3 separate regions of the Homo sapiens genome follow, and regions 1 and 3 are each linked to region 2. The links are contacts of gene promoters, found by promoter capture Hi-C in human tissues and cell types (Jung and others, 2019). All regions are on one chromosome and are shown on one strand. Each heading gives the region's core, a stretch centred on a gene start or on the middle of the fragment in contact. The rest is flanking DNA. Distances are from core to core; before and after follow the strand shown. Region 1 holds the start of ZNF132 (zinc finger protein 132). Region 2 holds the start of ZNF586 (zinc finger protein 586). Region 3 holds the start of LOC124904780 (a long non-coding RNA gene).

Region 1 (4,488 bases), core at 1,213-3,712, 670 kb after region 2:
ATTCTCCCTAGCATCTCACCATGCACATGGCATACCTGACAGATGCAACCGGGATCCATTCCTGGTCCAAGCCAGCTACAGAGCTCCAAAAACCCCACTGCAAGAGGCAGTCATAGCCCCTCAAGTCAATGCCTCCCCTGCCAGCCCTGTTCCTTCAACCATCAGCTGCCCAGAACCATAAGCAGATCTCAAATATCTCTTCCCTCTGATATCTTTGCCTTTGTATGTGTTGTCTCCTCCCCAGTCATAGCTGTCCTTGCTCTTCCTAACACTCAAATCCAAGATCCACTGGCCCCCACCTTGGCTTGGGGACTCAGCTTAGGCTGACCCTTTCTGATCTTGCCACTCCACCAGCCTGACAAAAACCCCAGGACCCTATTTAAGAAGAGATAACATGCCCTGACCACAAGAAGGATGGCCGCAACAATGTAGTGAGCTGTAGAGAAGCAAATCAACCTAAACCAAAGCCCAACTCTCATCCTACTTTTGCCGCTATGCTTCACTGTTGTCCTAGACCTACTCTCTGCTCAGGAGGCTCAGCCACTATCTTGAACCCAACCCACAACTGCATGCAGTGTCCACACACAAGCATCCATCCCTTGGATGTTTCCAGCCTAAACCCGACATAATTTCATAATCACATGTTTAGTGGTCTACTTGGCACCTCAATTTGGTAGTGTCTGGGACATCTCAAATACAACATGGCCAAAATCCAACTCTTTATCTTCCCCCTGAAATCTACTCCTCACACCAACTTCCACATCTGAAAGATCTAAGGTCAATTTTTTTTTTTTTTTTTTTGAGACAGAGTCTCGCTCTGTCACCCAGGTTGGAGTGCAGTGGCGCGATCTTGGCTCACTGCAAGCTCCGCCTCCCGGGTTCAAGCCATTCTCCTGCCTCAGCCTCCCGAGTAGCTGGGACTACAGGCACCCACCACCACGCCTGACTAATTTTTTGTATTTTTAGTAGAGATGGGGTTTCACCGTGTTAGCCAGGATGGTCTCAATCTCCTGACCTAGTGATCCACCTGCCTCGGCCTCCCAAAGTGCTGGGATTACAGGCGTGAGCCACCACGCCCGGCAATTTTTTTTTTTTTTTAAGACAGAGTCTCGCTCTGTCACTCAGGCTGGAGCGCAGTGGCACGATCTCAGCTCAATGCAACCTCCATCTCCCAGATTCAAACAGTTCTTCTGCCTCAGTTTCCCAAGTTGCTGGGATTACAGGTGCACACTACCATGTCCTGGCTAATTTTTCTGTATTTTTAGTAGAGGTGGGGTTTCGCCACGTTGGCCAGGCTGGTCTTGAACTCCTGACCTCAAGTGATCTGGCCGCCTTGGCCTCCCAAAGTGCTGGGATTACAAGTGTGAGCCACTGCACTCAGCCTTAGGTCAATCTTAACATTTCACTTTCTTTCACTGTCCCACATCAGGTAATCCATGGCCCAGTTTGGGCAGATTCAGAAGCCAACCATCTGTCCTACCTCCACGGGCACCCCTCTGTCCAGCTACCCAAAGCACACATCTGGACCACATCTGTCAGCTCCTCACTGGCCTTCCTGCTCCACCATCACCATCCCTCCAGTCTGCTGCCCACTAGGCATCCATAGGGCGTCTGTTAAGACTGGAGTCAGAGCACCTACTTCCTCTACTCCAAACCTTCCATGGCTCCCACCACCATCAGAATAGAGGTCCAGCTCCTCAGGCTGCCATTCCAGGCCTAACTATTGGTTTCCCTTCCCTGTTTCCACCAGACTAAATGGAGACCGGCAGTCCCCAGAATGCTTCCATTTCATCACCACTAAACAAGGTACACATGCTGGTCACTGTCCCTGGGACAGCCTTCCAGATCTCATTCCACAGGATTCCAGAAATGGGAATCCCTCGATATAACCCCTTGCCTGGATTCAGGATGGTAAGGGTAAGTGACTCCCAGGGCAGGGCCCAGGACCCACGTGTGAGGACAGGACACGATCAAGAGTCCCAGGACACCAACATCCCCTCTATCTGGGCTTCAGGATCCTGAGGGCCGGAATCCCAGCGGGTGAGGGCCTGGGGCACACTCCACTTACCTGCGCCGGGCCCATCAGCAACGCTGGCAACCCCATTAGAACCTGTGGGCTGGGCAGGGCCATAACAGGAGGCCCAGGGCTAGCCCTGCCGCTGGGCCGAACCCTCACACTTCCGCTGGGTGACGGTCGCACTCAGGACCTGTCTTCCCAAATGCAAAATGCGCGCAAGGCCTCTGGGCACCGCAGGGACGAAGGCTGGGTATGGAGACCCTGGAGACGCGTGGCGCTGGCTCCACTTTCGGGAACACCTTGGCTCATAAAAGCAGAGTAATTAGCCGGGCACTATGGTGCGTGTGAAGGCGCGGTGACGGTCCCTGCACCCACTCCCGTGCCCTGGTGTGGCTCCAGAGGCCTGCTGTAGCCCAACCCACCAGCAGCAAAATGAGGACCGCAATGGCGGCGCCGGAAGTCCCGCCTCTCAATGACAGCTCGGACTTGCCACTGGTCCGAGCTTTCATTGGCTCAAGGATCCCCGCCGTCTATGACGCTATTTCCCTATGCCCGTCACGCTACTGCTAGGTCGTTGCCAAGGTGATTGAGGAATGGCGTTTATTGCGTCGCTGCTCAGGCAACGCAAACTACATTATCCAGAAGGACCCTCGCGGTGCCTCAGGGCTGGCCATTGGCAGCCGAGGAGACAGGCACTTCCGGGCGGAGTGTAAGACGCTGGCCAATCACAGCCTGGCAGCGGGACTTCCGTCGTCGTCCTCGGACCATCACTTTGGCATTTCTCGATTTTGTCTGCTTCTGAAGGGACCGCGTTGTCAGGCGAGGGACGGAATCTTGGAGGCTCCCTGGGCCCATGGAAACAGGAGCGAGGAAGGCACGAGAGTCGGGGAAGTTCCGCCTTCTTGACATACAAGCGCCCCCACCGCGGCGAATATCGCCCCTGAGCCCAGTGTTCGCCCCCCACAACACCGCACCCCCCTTCCCCACCCTGTGCCTTAGATAAAGCCGGCCCAGTGGGACCCTCAGGTTGCACCGCGCGGAGGTGTCCGCGGCTCTCGGGAGTCGTCGCCCTTGGCGTTATGTTGGCTTTAGGGAGCGCGAGGCCGAGGCCAAGAAAAGCTACGCATTGGGAGGTCTTGACCCAGTGTGCGCCCGGCTGTAGGCATGGAACGTGCGCCAAAGGTCTCCTGGCACCCACTCCGCTGGACTCAGCACCATTGTCCTAAGTCTCCGATTGAGAAGTATCTGCCCCAGGTCCTCTGCGGGCCCCACTGAACAGTGTGGAGCGTTCACAGGTTGGGGGTCACCATTTCAGAATCCAGTTTGTTGAGACGTGGAGGGTACAGGAGGAGGGATCTGCATATGCGAAGACTTGGACTTGACCCTGACCTGAGCGTTCAGGCAGGCTCTCATGCCCCCTTGGCAGCGAGTGGAGAGCGTAAGAGGAGTCCTGCCTCTCCTGGCACACCGAGGGCGCCTGGGAGCCATGAAAGGTGTTGAACAGAAAAGGGATGGACATGACCTGAGTTAGAATTTGGAAAGTATTTCAGTGGTTGCTGAATGAACACACTACTGGAGAAGGTGGTTGTAGTGGGGCTGGAAGCAGGGAGACTGTGGGGGAGGTTATTGCAGTATTGTTCCAGACAGTTATGATAGTGGCCTGTCCAGAACGGAAGCAAGAAGGATGGGAGAAGTGATCAGATTCCCAGTGGATCTTCAAGATAGAGCTAATGGAATTTTTTGCTACCTTAGATAAGTGGAATAAGCATGAGTAGGGGTGAAGGACCATCCCAAGTAGTTAGGAAGAATTAGGATGCCTCCTGTGGAGAATAGAGGTTGGCAGTTGGCAGGAGGAGGATGTTTCATGGAAGATTAGCGATGGATTTTGTAGGTATAGAGTCTGAATTGTCTGGAGACCTGTGAGTGGAGGTGTCAAATGGGCCTCTGGATATATAGAATTCTGGTGTGGCTTCAGGACGTCCAGACTGCATTATGTTGGTGGCCTGGCCCAGTGAACGGCCTGAGGATAGGATTTGGGAAGGAGGGTTTTAGGTTGGAGGACCAGTGGCTAGGGCTCACGCTCAGTGCTTAGATCACATCTGTCTGCCCATTGGCTTGGTGTTGCAGGGCTTAATGACCTTTGAGGACAGGGTCAGTACATCTTCCAAGAATGTGGGGCTCCTTAGTGAGGTCCAAGGGGGCTTCTACAGTGACATGATACTACAGAGCTTTGTACTCCAGTGCCCACTAGGTAAGGCTACTGTGTCTCCTCTTTCCCCTACACATGAAATCTAGGTTTTCCTCCGCCTTTCCATTGTTCCCTCTGGGAGGTGCTGCTGGCCCTGGCACTGGCCAGTGTCCTGCTGTGTCCGGAATTGTTTCCTTCCTCTGGGTTCTTGGTCTCGCTGACTTCAAGAATAAAGCCGCGGACCCTCGTGTTGAGTGTTACAGTTCTTTTTTTTTTTTTTTTT
Region 2 (4,002 bases), core at 1,041-3,540:
CAAAGTCCTGGGATTACAGGCATGAGCCACCGCACCCGGCCAACTTTTTTGTTTGTTTGTTTGTTTGTTTGTTTGAGACGGAGTCTCGCTCTGTCCCCCAGCCTGGAGTGCAGTGGCGTGATCTCGGCTCACTGCAACCTCCGCCTCCCGGGTTCAAGCCATTCTCCTGCCTCAGGCTCCGGAGTAGCTGGGACTACAGGCGCCTGCCACCACGCCCAGCTAATTTTTTTGTATTTTTAGTAGAGACGGGGTTTCATCATATTAGCCAGGATGGTCTCGATCTCCTGACCTCGTGATCCGCCCGCCTCGGCCTCCCAAAGTGCTGGGATTACAGGTGTGAGCCACCGCGCCCAGCCAACTTTTTTTTTAAGTATAGAAAATTTTACAGGTTGGGCGCGGTGGCAGGCGCCTATAATCCCAGCTGCTCGGGGGGCTGAGACAGGAAAATCACTTGAACTTGGCCAAGAGGCGGAGGTTGCAGTGAGCCGAGATCGCAGCAATGCACTCCAGCCTGGGTGACAGAGCGAGACTCCATCTCAAAAAAAAAAAAAAAAAAAGAGGTGGAGATTTCCCAGAACTGAGGTTCCCTCCCCTTTTTAGACTATATAGGGTAACTTCCAAACATTGCCAGGGCATTGGTATACTGTCATGGCGCTGGCGGGAGTTAGTATGCTAATGCATTATAATTAGCGTATAATGAGCAGTGAGGATGACCACAGGTCACTTTCATCACCATCTTGGTTTTGGTGCGTTTTAGCCAGCTTCTTTACTGCATCCTGTTTTATCAGCAGGGTCTTTGTGACCTGCATCTTGTGCCAACCTCCTATCTCATCCTGTGACTAAGAATGCCTAACCTGGGAATGCAGCCGAGTATTTCTCAGCCTTACTTTATCCAGCCCATTTTCAAGATGGAGTCACTCTGATTCCAATGCCACTGACAATGATAAGCACTTGCCAGCAAAGAGGTGAACGCATGGATTTAAGGCACTTGAAATATCTCAGTGTAAAAGCACCCTGTGCATGTAGCAGGACGAGCCGCAGACAAAACCTCTCAGACACCGAGTTGCAGAAGGAAGGGCTTTATTCAGCTGGGAGCATTGGCCAGCTACTGTCTCAAAATCTGAGCTCCCGGAGTGCACAATTTCTGTCCCTTTTAAGGGCTCACAACACTAAAGATTTCACATGAAAGGGTCGTGATTGATTTGAGCAAGCAAGGGGTATGTGACAGGGGCTGCATGCACCGGTGGTCAGGGAGGAACAGAACAGGGCAGGGAGTTTCACAATGTTCTTCTATACAATCTAAGGAATCTATGAATAACATCGGCTTCTAAATCATAAGTTGATTTTTAACTACTGGGTTTAGGCCAGGCGGGCCTAGGCCTGGTTTCGGGCCTGGCGCGGGGTTGCCTGTCTTTGGTTTTACTTCCTTGTTGTTTTTACTGAATATAAAACAATGTGAGAGGGTCTCTCTCTTCTCTCATGCATACATACTCCATGTTTGAACACCGCAGCCATTGTCCTGTAACATAATAGCATTTGTCTCATTAGCTTTTTGATGTTGATATCAGATTTCTAGAGGAATCTGTAGGTTAAAGATATAAATAAAAGTGTTGCTAATGGGCTGAGAACGGTGGTTCACGCCTGTAATCCTAGCACTTCGGTAGACCATTGCAGGCAGATCACTTGAGGCCAGAAGTTCGAGACCAGCCTGGCCAAAATGAGGAAACCCCGTCTCTACTAAAAATACAAAAATTAGCAGGGTATGGTGGCACACGCCTGTAATCCCAGCTACTCGGATGGTTGAGGCACGAGAATCGCTTGAACCCGGGAGGCATAGGCTGCAGTGAGCCAAGATCACACCACTGCACCCCAGCCTGAGTGACAGAGAGAACTATGTCTTAAAAAAAAGACAAAAAAAAAAAAAAAAGGAAGAAGCCGAGCATCACAAATTCTGAAATAAGAAGTCTCCAAACACGCGGGCAATCAGTTGCACACAGTACCCCCAGAAATGTGCGTATGGCCTCTTCTAAGATGGGAGACCCTCCTCCGCATCTGGACCTGGAGTCGCCATTTCCTAGCGCCCCTCGCAGTGGAGCTTGCCCCTTTCTTCGGAAAGTCGGAAGAAAGCCACCTTAAGCGCTGCCCATGTCTGGGAACTACATTACCCAGAATCCGCCCTGCGAAATGGTAACGTGGCTGAGCCAATGAAGCTTCAGAGAAGCCGTGCCATTGCCGGGGCACGTAAAGTCAAGCCAGGACTTCCGGCGTCCTAGCCGTGGCAGCCATTTTGGCCTGTCAGGTCCATCCGGCGATGCTGGGTCTGGACGAGCTCGGGAGGAGTGGTTGTGGCCATTGCACACAGGCGGATCTGAGGTTCGGCGACGCCGCTGGTCGCGACCCGGGACAGGACAACGACAGGAACACCGCCGAGCCCGCGTTCCCCCCCCGCCCAGAGTCATGGCGGCAGCAGCCGCTCTGAGGGCGCCTGCTCAGGTGAGCGCTGCGACCTCCGGGCCTTACCCACCCTACCCACCCAGACCCTGAGGCCCCTGATCGTGAGGGCCGCCTCCTCGCGTCCCTGCAGCCCAGGCCTCTGTCAGGGACGGAGAGGCGCCGGCGGGTGGGATCCCTGTTTCCGACACCCAGTTGATGCGGTCGGCAGAGCGAGACTGGCGGAGGGCAAAGGCCTGCAGGCGCGACTGAGGCAGGAGGATGCGGAACACGGGGACATCGTGTGTCTACTGGGAAAGAAGTGTGATACGGAGTTATTTCTTTTTTTTTTTTTTTTTGAGACGGAGTCTCACTCTGTCGCCCAGGCTGGAGTGCAGTGGCGCGATCTCGGCTCACTGCAAGCTCCACCTCCCCGGTTCAAGCGATTCTCCTGCCTCAGCCTCCCGAGTAGCTGGGATTACAGGCATGCGCCACCACGGGGTTTCACCATGTTGGCTAGGCTGGCCTCGAACTCCTGACCTTAGGTGATCCGCCCACCTCGGCCTCCCAAAGTGCTGGGAATACAGGCGTGAGCCACCGCGCCTGGCCGAGGCGGAGTTGTTTCTTCAGTACCAGGCTGAGGGTTGAACTTTGACTGTGAGGACGCTAAAAGCCATGGACAGTTTTGAACAAAGGAGGAAATCTGTGTTAGAGTTGCGATTCCCAAAAGATGTTCGAAGGAAGAACAGAGTTGAAGGCAGTGATGAGGACATTGAGAGGTTGAATCATTGAGAGGTGACATTGAGCACTGGGCCACAAGATTAGAGACTCAGTCTGAAGTCATCTGGCTGCAGGGCCAAAAAAAGCTTACAGAGAAGCCTGAGTCTATCAAATCCGAGCACAGACACATTTGTGAAAGCCCTGCCTTTTGGCACACCTCATGGCTACAGAAGCACTTACAGAATCCACAGTAGGAAGTAGGGGATGCTCTAGTCCTTCACTGGTCCTCATCCTATCCCACATGTCTAGATCTTGGCATCTTTTTTTTTTTTCGGCGACGGGTTCTCACTCAACACCCAGGCTGGGTTGCGGTGACGCGATCACGGCGCAGCACGGCCTCGACCTCTCCGGGCTCAGGAGAGCCTCTCATCTCAGTCTCCCGAGTAACTGGCTTTTTGTATTTTTAGTAGAGGTGGGGTTTCACGGCCGGGCGCGGTGGCTCACGCCTGTAATCCTAGCACTTTGGGAGGCCGAGGCGGGCGGATCACGAGGTCAGGAGTTTGAGACCATCCTGGCTAACACGGTGAAATCCCCCCTCTACTAAAAATACAAAAAATTAGCCAGGCCTGGTGGCACACACCTGTAGTCCCAACTACTTGGGAGGCTGAGGCAGGAGAATCGCTTGAACCCGGGAGGCAGAGGTTGCAGTGAGCCGAGATCGCGCCACTGCACTCCAGCCTGGGCGACAGAGAAAGACTCCGTCTGAAAAAAAAAAAAAAAAGAGAGAGAGAGAGATGGGGTTTCGCCATGTTGCCCAGGCTAGTCTCGAACCCTTGGGCTCAAGCAGTCCTC
Region 3 (4,648 bases), core at 692-3,191, 600 kb before region 2:
ACTCCAATTAAATATTGTATTTACTTTTTTTTTTTTTTGAGACAGTGTTTCACTCTTGTTGCCCAGGCTGAAGTGCAGTGGGGTGATCTCAGGTCACTGCAGCCTCTGCCTCCCAGATTCAAGTGATTCTCCTGCCTCAGGCTCCTGAGTAGCTGGGATTACAGGCATCTGCCACCACGTCTGGCTAATTTTTTGTATTTTTAGTAGAGATGGGGTTTCACCATATTGGCCAGGCTGGTCTCGAACTACTGACCTCAGGTGATCCACCTGCCTCGGCCTCCCAAAGTGCTAGGATTACAGGTGTGATCCACTGCCCTGGGCCTTGTATTTACTTTTTAGCTTTATTGAGGTACAGTTGACAAAAAAGATACATATTTTAAATATACGATTTGAATTTTGATATACACATATAATATGATATGGTTACCATAATCAAATCAAGCTGATTGATGTATTAACCACCTCAAATTATACCCTTTGTGTGTGTGTGTGTGTGCGGTCAGAACACTTTTTAAAAAAAATATCCTTTTCTCCCCCATGCAGAAGAACACTTAAGGTCTATCCTTGTCGCAAAAAATAAAAATCTATCCTCTTAGCAAATGTCAAGTAGTATTGTTTTTTTCATTTCTGATCATCCAATTTAAAATTTTTTTTTCTAATTTGTTAACTATGTCACATAATGTCACAATGTACATGTCAAATAACGTCACTATGTACCTTAAATCCCCAAAACTTATCTTGCAAAACTGAAAATTTGTACTTCTTGACCAACATTTCCCCATTTCCCCTTCACTCAAGCCCCCGGCAACCACCATTTTACTCTCTGCTTCTATTTTTGATCCAACCTCACTGTTTGTGTCCACGCTCCTTAATTTTCTTGGTCATGAGACCACGAGCTTAGATAACACCTTAGACAATGAGACCAGTGACCCTGACCTGTTTCAGTTTAGTTATTTAAAATATTTTTCTTTCTTTTTTAAATTGTATTTATTTATTTATTTGTTTTGAGAGGGTCTTGCTCTGTCGCCCAGGCTGGAATGCAGTGGTGCAACCATGGCTCACTGCAGCCTCCGACTCCTGGGCTCAAGCGATCTTACCCCCTAGGGCTCCAAAAGTGCTCTGACAGTAAATGCATGAGCTACCATGCCCAGCCATCAAATTTTCAATCATTATAAATCTTAGAGCTGGAAATAATATCTCATTGTTTTATTTTTAATTTGAGCGCTAGCGTGCTTGAACACTTTTAATCAAATGTATTTGCCATATTTTATTTTTCTTTTATTAGCTTTCAGATTCTTTGCTTCTTTCTTAGGTAGAACATTTCTTTGAGACTTAAATATTATGCTGCATTTGTCCTATGTCCTGCAAGTGTTTTCTTAATTCAGTATTTTAAAATAATATTTTGTTTTTATGTTTTTTGTATCTTTATAGCATTCTTCTAAATTGGATCTATGTTTATTTTAATTGTCTAGTCAAAGTACTGACAAGGAGGAGTGAACTTCCTGAAAACGGAGAACAAGATGTGATGCCTTTTAGTAAATGTTTACCAAAAGACACAGGATTCCATTTCCAATTCCATATCGAGAACCTTTAAAATTGTACATAAAAATGCAGGTGAAGTCGTGGAGAAGGGAGGCCAACAGTGCACACAGGTAGTGCCTCTGGGGAAGAATCAGAAGTCATCCTGCATCCTAAATTCCTGACCTGACTTTTCTGCAGGGCGAGTATCTGACCTGTGCTACACCATCAGCAACACAAAGAAAACTTGATGAGCTTTTATTTCCTTTTATTTGTATGTTTCACTCCAGTTTTCAATTCCGTGCCCTCAAAAGCCCGGATATCATCACCGGTACCTCTTTTAAGCTTCACCTCTCTGTGCGGCTCCGCAAGTATGTTGGTCTCCCTGAGAGAGTGGGGCCTGCAACCTGCTGGGCGCAGGCGCCTTGAGCTGCCACGTCTGCCCTTTTACCGGCTTGGGTGCAGGCAAGGGAAATGCGTCCCCGGGCCGGGGGGCGCGAGCGGGGGTCCGGGGCCGCGAGCTGGGGTCCGGGGAGCGCGAGCGGGGGTCCGGGGGGCGGGGGCCGCGGGCCGCGAGGGGGGCGGGGGCCGCGAGGGGGCGGGGCGTGCGAGGGGGCGGGGGCGTGCGAGGGGGCGGGGGCGCGCGAGGGGGCGGGGCGCGCGAGGGGGCGGGGCGCGCGAGGGGGCGGGGCGCGCGAGGGGGCGGGGCGCGCGAGGGGGCGGGGCGCGCGAGGGGGCGGGGCGCGCGAGGGGGCGGGGCGCGCGAGGGGGCGGGGCGCGCGAGGGGGCGGGGCGCGCCGGGCTCGTCCTCTCCGCGGCGCTCAGTGGCAGCAGGGAGGGCCGGTGAGATGCCAGAGCAAGGTAGGGTCCTGTATTTGGGGACCGCTGACGTTTGGGTCCCCCTCCCGCGGCTGTTAGCGCTGCGTGGCCCGAGACCTGCGGTCGGGCGGGGATTAAGGCTGCTTTCCGGAGGGCCCCGGCCGCGTGGTCGCCCTGCCAGAGCGGTTGATGTCAGGCAGTGCTGGGAGGCGTTGCTCTCCGGGTTCGCTTCTCTCCTGTTGTCCTAACTCTGCATCTCTCCCGGGTGAATCACAGAGCTGTAAACTAAAAATCAAATTCTAAGCTCCCAGCCAACTGAATGGACCCCTCCTCTCAGCTAAGAGCATGGCAAACTTAACCGGAAACACTAGTTCGGCCGCGATAGGAAGGAGATGGGACATGCCTCATTTTACCCTCCTCTCTTTGAAATTCAGGCACAGGTCGGGCGCGGTGGCTCATGCCTGTAATCCCAGCACTTTCGGAGGCCGAGGTGGGTGGATCACATGAGGTCAGGAGTTCGAGACCAGCCTGGCCAACATGGAGAAACCCCGTCTCTACTAAAAATACAAAAATTAGCCAGGCGTGGTGGCGGGCGCCTGTATCCCAACTACTCAGGAGGCTGAGGCAGGAGAATTGCTTTAACCCGGGAGGTGGAGGTTGCAGTGAGCCGAGATCGCGCCACTGCCACTCCAGCCTCAGCACCAGAGCAAGACTACGCCTCAAAAAAAAAAAAAAAAAAAAAAGGAATTCAGGCACAGCTGACCAGTATTAACATTAAAACAATTTTTTTTTAGTATCTTCATGCTAAAGGGGTAAGTAGAAATTGCATGTAGCCTCCCATCAGTTTATTCCAAATAGCAAACATTTACCAAGCCCTGAGTTATTAACTACGTATTTTCTTTTTGTAAACCTTACAATTGAGCAGGCAAGTAATAACATTATCTCCATATTTTTAATGTGAGGAAACTGAGGCCCAGGAAGACGTGTAATTTGCCCAATATCAGGTATTCAGTATATTGGAGATTTGAAGGACAAGTTATTTATTTTGAAAAATGTATACCTTTTCCAAAGTTCCAACAATAATTCAATGAACACATTTATTTTGCCCCAGAATTGCCAATGATGTTATGTCCTATAAGGAGGCACCTAAGTATACAGTTTGTCCATTTGGGAGATTTGGATTTTGACTACTTGGTTAAGATGGTATCTACTAGATCTCTCCACTCTTTCTTCTTTGTAATTAATAAGTAATCTGTGGGTCAATTCTTTGCAATGTCTGAATAATATTAAGTCCCCCCACTTCAGCCTCTAGTTTTAGCCTCTGTTGATGATTCTTCCCTGAATCTGTGATCACTGCTTGTGGGGATTCTATTTCTATTACTTCTTTACATTTTATACTTATAAGTTGACACTCCTGTAAAGAACTTTACCCATCCCATTCTTTTTTCTTTTCTTTTTTTTTGTTTTTGAGAAAGAGTCTCACTCTTGTCATCCGGGCTGGAGTGCAGTTGCGCGATCTAGGCTCACTGCAGCCTCCGCCTCCCGATTTCAAGTGATTCTCCTGTCTCAGCTTCCCAAGTAGCTGAGACTACAGGCGTGTGCTACCACACCCAGCTAATTTTGTTTTTTTTGGGTTTTTTTTTTGTTTTTGTTTTTGTTTTTTTTTAGTAGAGATGGGGTTTCACCATGTTGGCCAGGCTGGTCTCAAACTACTGACCTCAGGTGATCCACCCCCCTCGGCCTCCCAAAGTGTTGAGATTACAGGCGTGAGCCACCGCGCCCGGCCCACCTCAGGTGATCCACCCCTCTCAGCCTCCCAAAGTGTTGAGATTACAGGCGTGAGCCACCACGCCGGGCCCACCTCAGGTGATCCACCCCCCTCGGCCTCCCAAAGTGTTGAGATTACAGGCGTGAGCCACCGCGCCCGGCCCACCTCAGGTGATCCACCCCTCTCAGCCTCCCAAAGTGCTGAGATTACAGGCGTGAGCCACCGCGCCCGGCCCATCCCATCCCATCCATTTTAAGTTAGTTAATTATTTTAGAAGCCACATGGAGTGGATGATTTTTATCTGCGGCATTATAATCCATTTATCTCATTGTATTGGTGCTCACACTACCCAGCATTAGCCTCTCCAAACTCAAGTAGGCTTGACTTTCTTATTTCTATCACAGAGCTCCTGAAACCCTTGGAATTTCCTGTGTGTTGAAATGTCTTTTGTTATTTTTAATGACTTTTTGATCACATCTCAGTTTATACCAATGAGATGGCTTAGGGTGGAGACCCTAGACAGCCTCAAGATGAAGCTGGTCA

What was found. The method cuts DNA at HindIII sites, captures the fragments that hold promoters and counts their contacts. A contact is called where the count stands out against the background at its distance.
Region 1: a contact is called between the fragment with the promoter of ZNF132 here and the fragment with the promoter of ZNF586 in region 2, in 1 of the 25 tissues and cell types used here (heart right ventricle).
Region 3: a fragment that was not itself captured here is called in contact with the fragment with the promoter of ZNF586 in region 2 in 1 of the 25 tissues and cell types used here (hippocampus).

Annotation. Positions count from the first base shown.
Region 1 is chr19:58,437,691-58,442,178 of GRCh38, forward strand. It overlaps ZNF132 (zinc finger protein 132), which reads right to left and starts at 2,463. Exons shown (of 3, transcript NM_003433.4): 1 at 2,069-2,463. The coding sequence starts at 2,131. It overlaps ZNF132-DT (ZNF132 divergent transcript), which reads left to right and starts at 2,758. Exons shown (of 1, transcript NR_186311.1): 1 at 2,758-4,488. It also overlaps a transcript of ZNF324B not described here. RefSeq lists enhancers at 2,129-2,639, 2,872-3,001, 3,151-3,660. The HindIII fragment of the contact is 13,144 bases long and covers 1-4,488 here.
Region 2 is chr19:57,767,386-57,771,387 of GRCh38, forward strand. ZNF586 (zinc finger protein 586) reads left to right here and starts at 2,291. Exons shown (of 3, transcript NM_017652.4): 1 at 2,291-2,493. The coding sequence starts at 2,458. RefSeq lists enhancers at 2,015-2,554, 2,276-2,525. The HindIII fragment of the contact is 4,771 bases long and covers 972-4,002 here.
Region 3 is chr19:57,169,918-57,174,565 of GRCh38, forward strand. It overlaps LOC124904780 (a long non-coding RNA gene), which reads left to right and starts at 2,327. Exons shown (of 2, transcript XR_007067355.1): 1 at 2,327-2,379. RefSeq lists a silencer at 1,914-1,963 and an enhancer at 2,295-2,354. The HindIII fragment of the contact is 4,103 bases long and covers 1-3,993 here.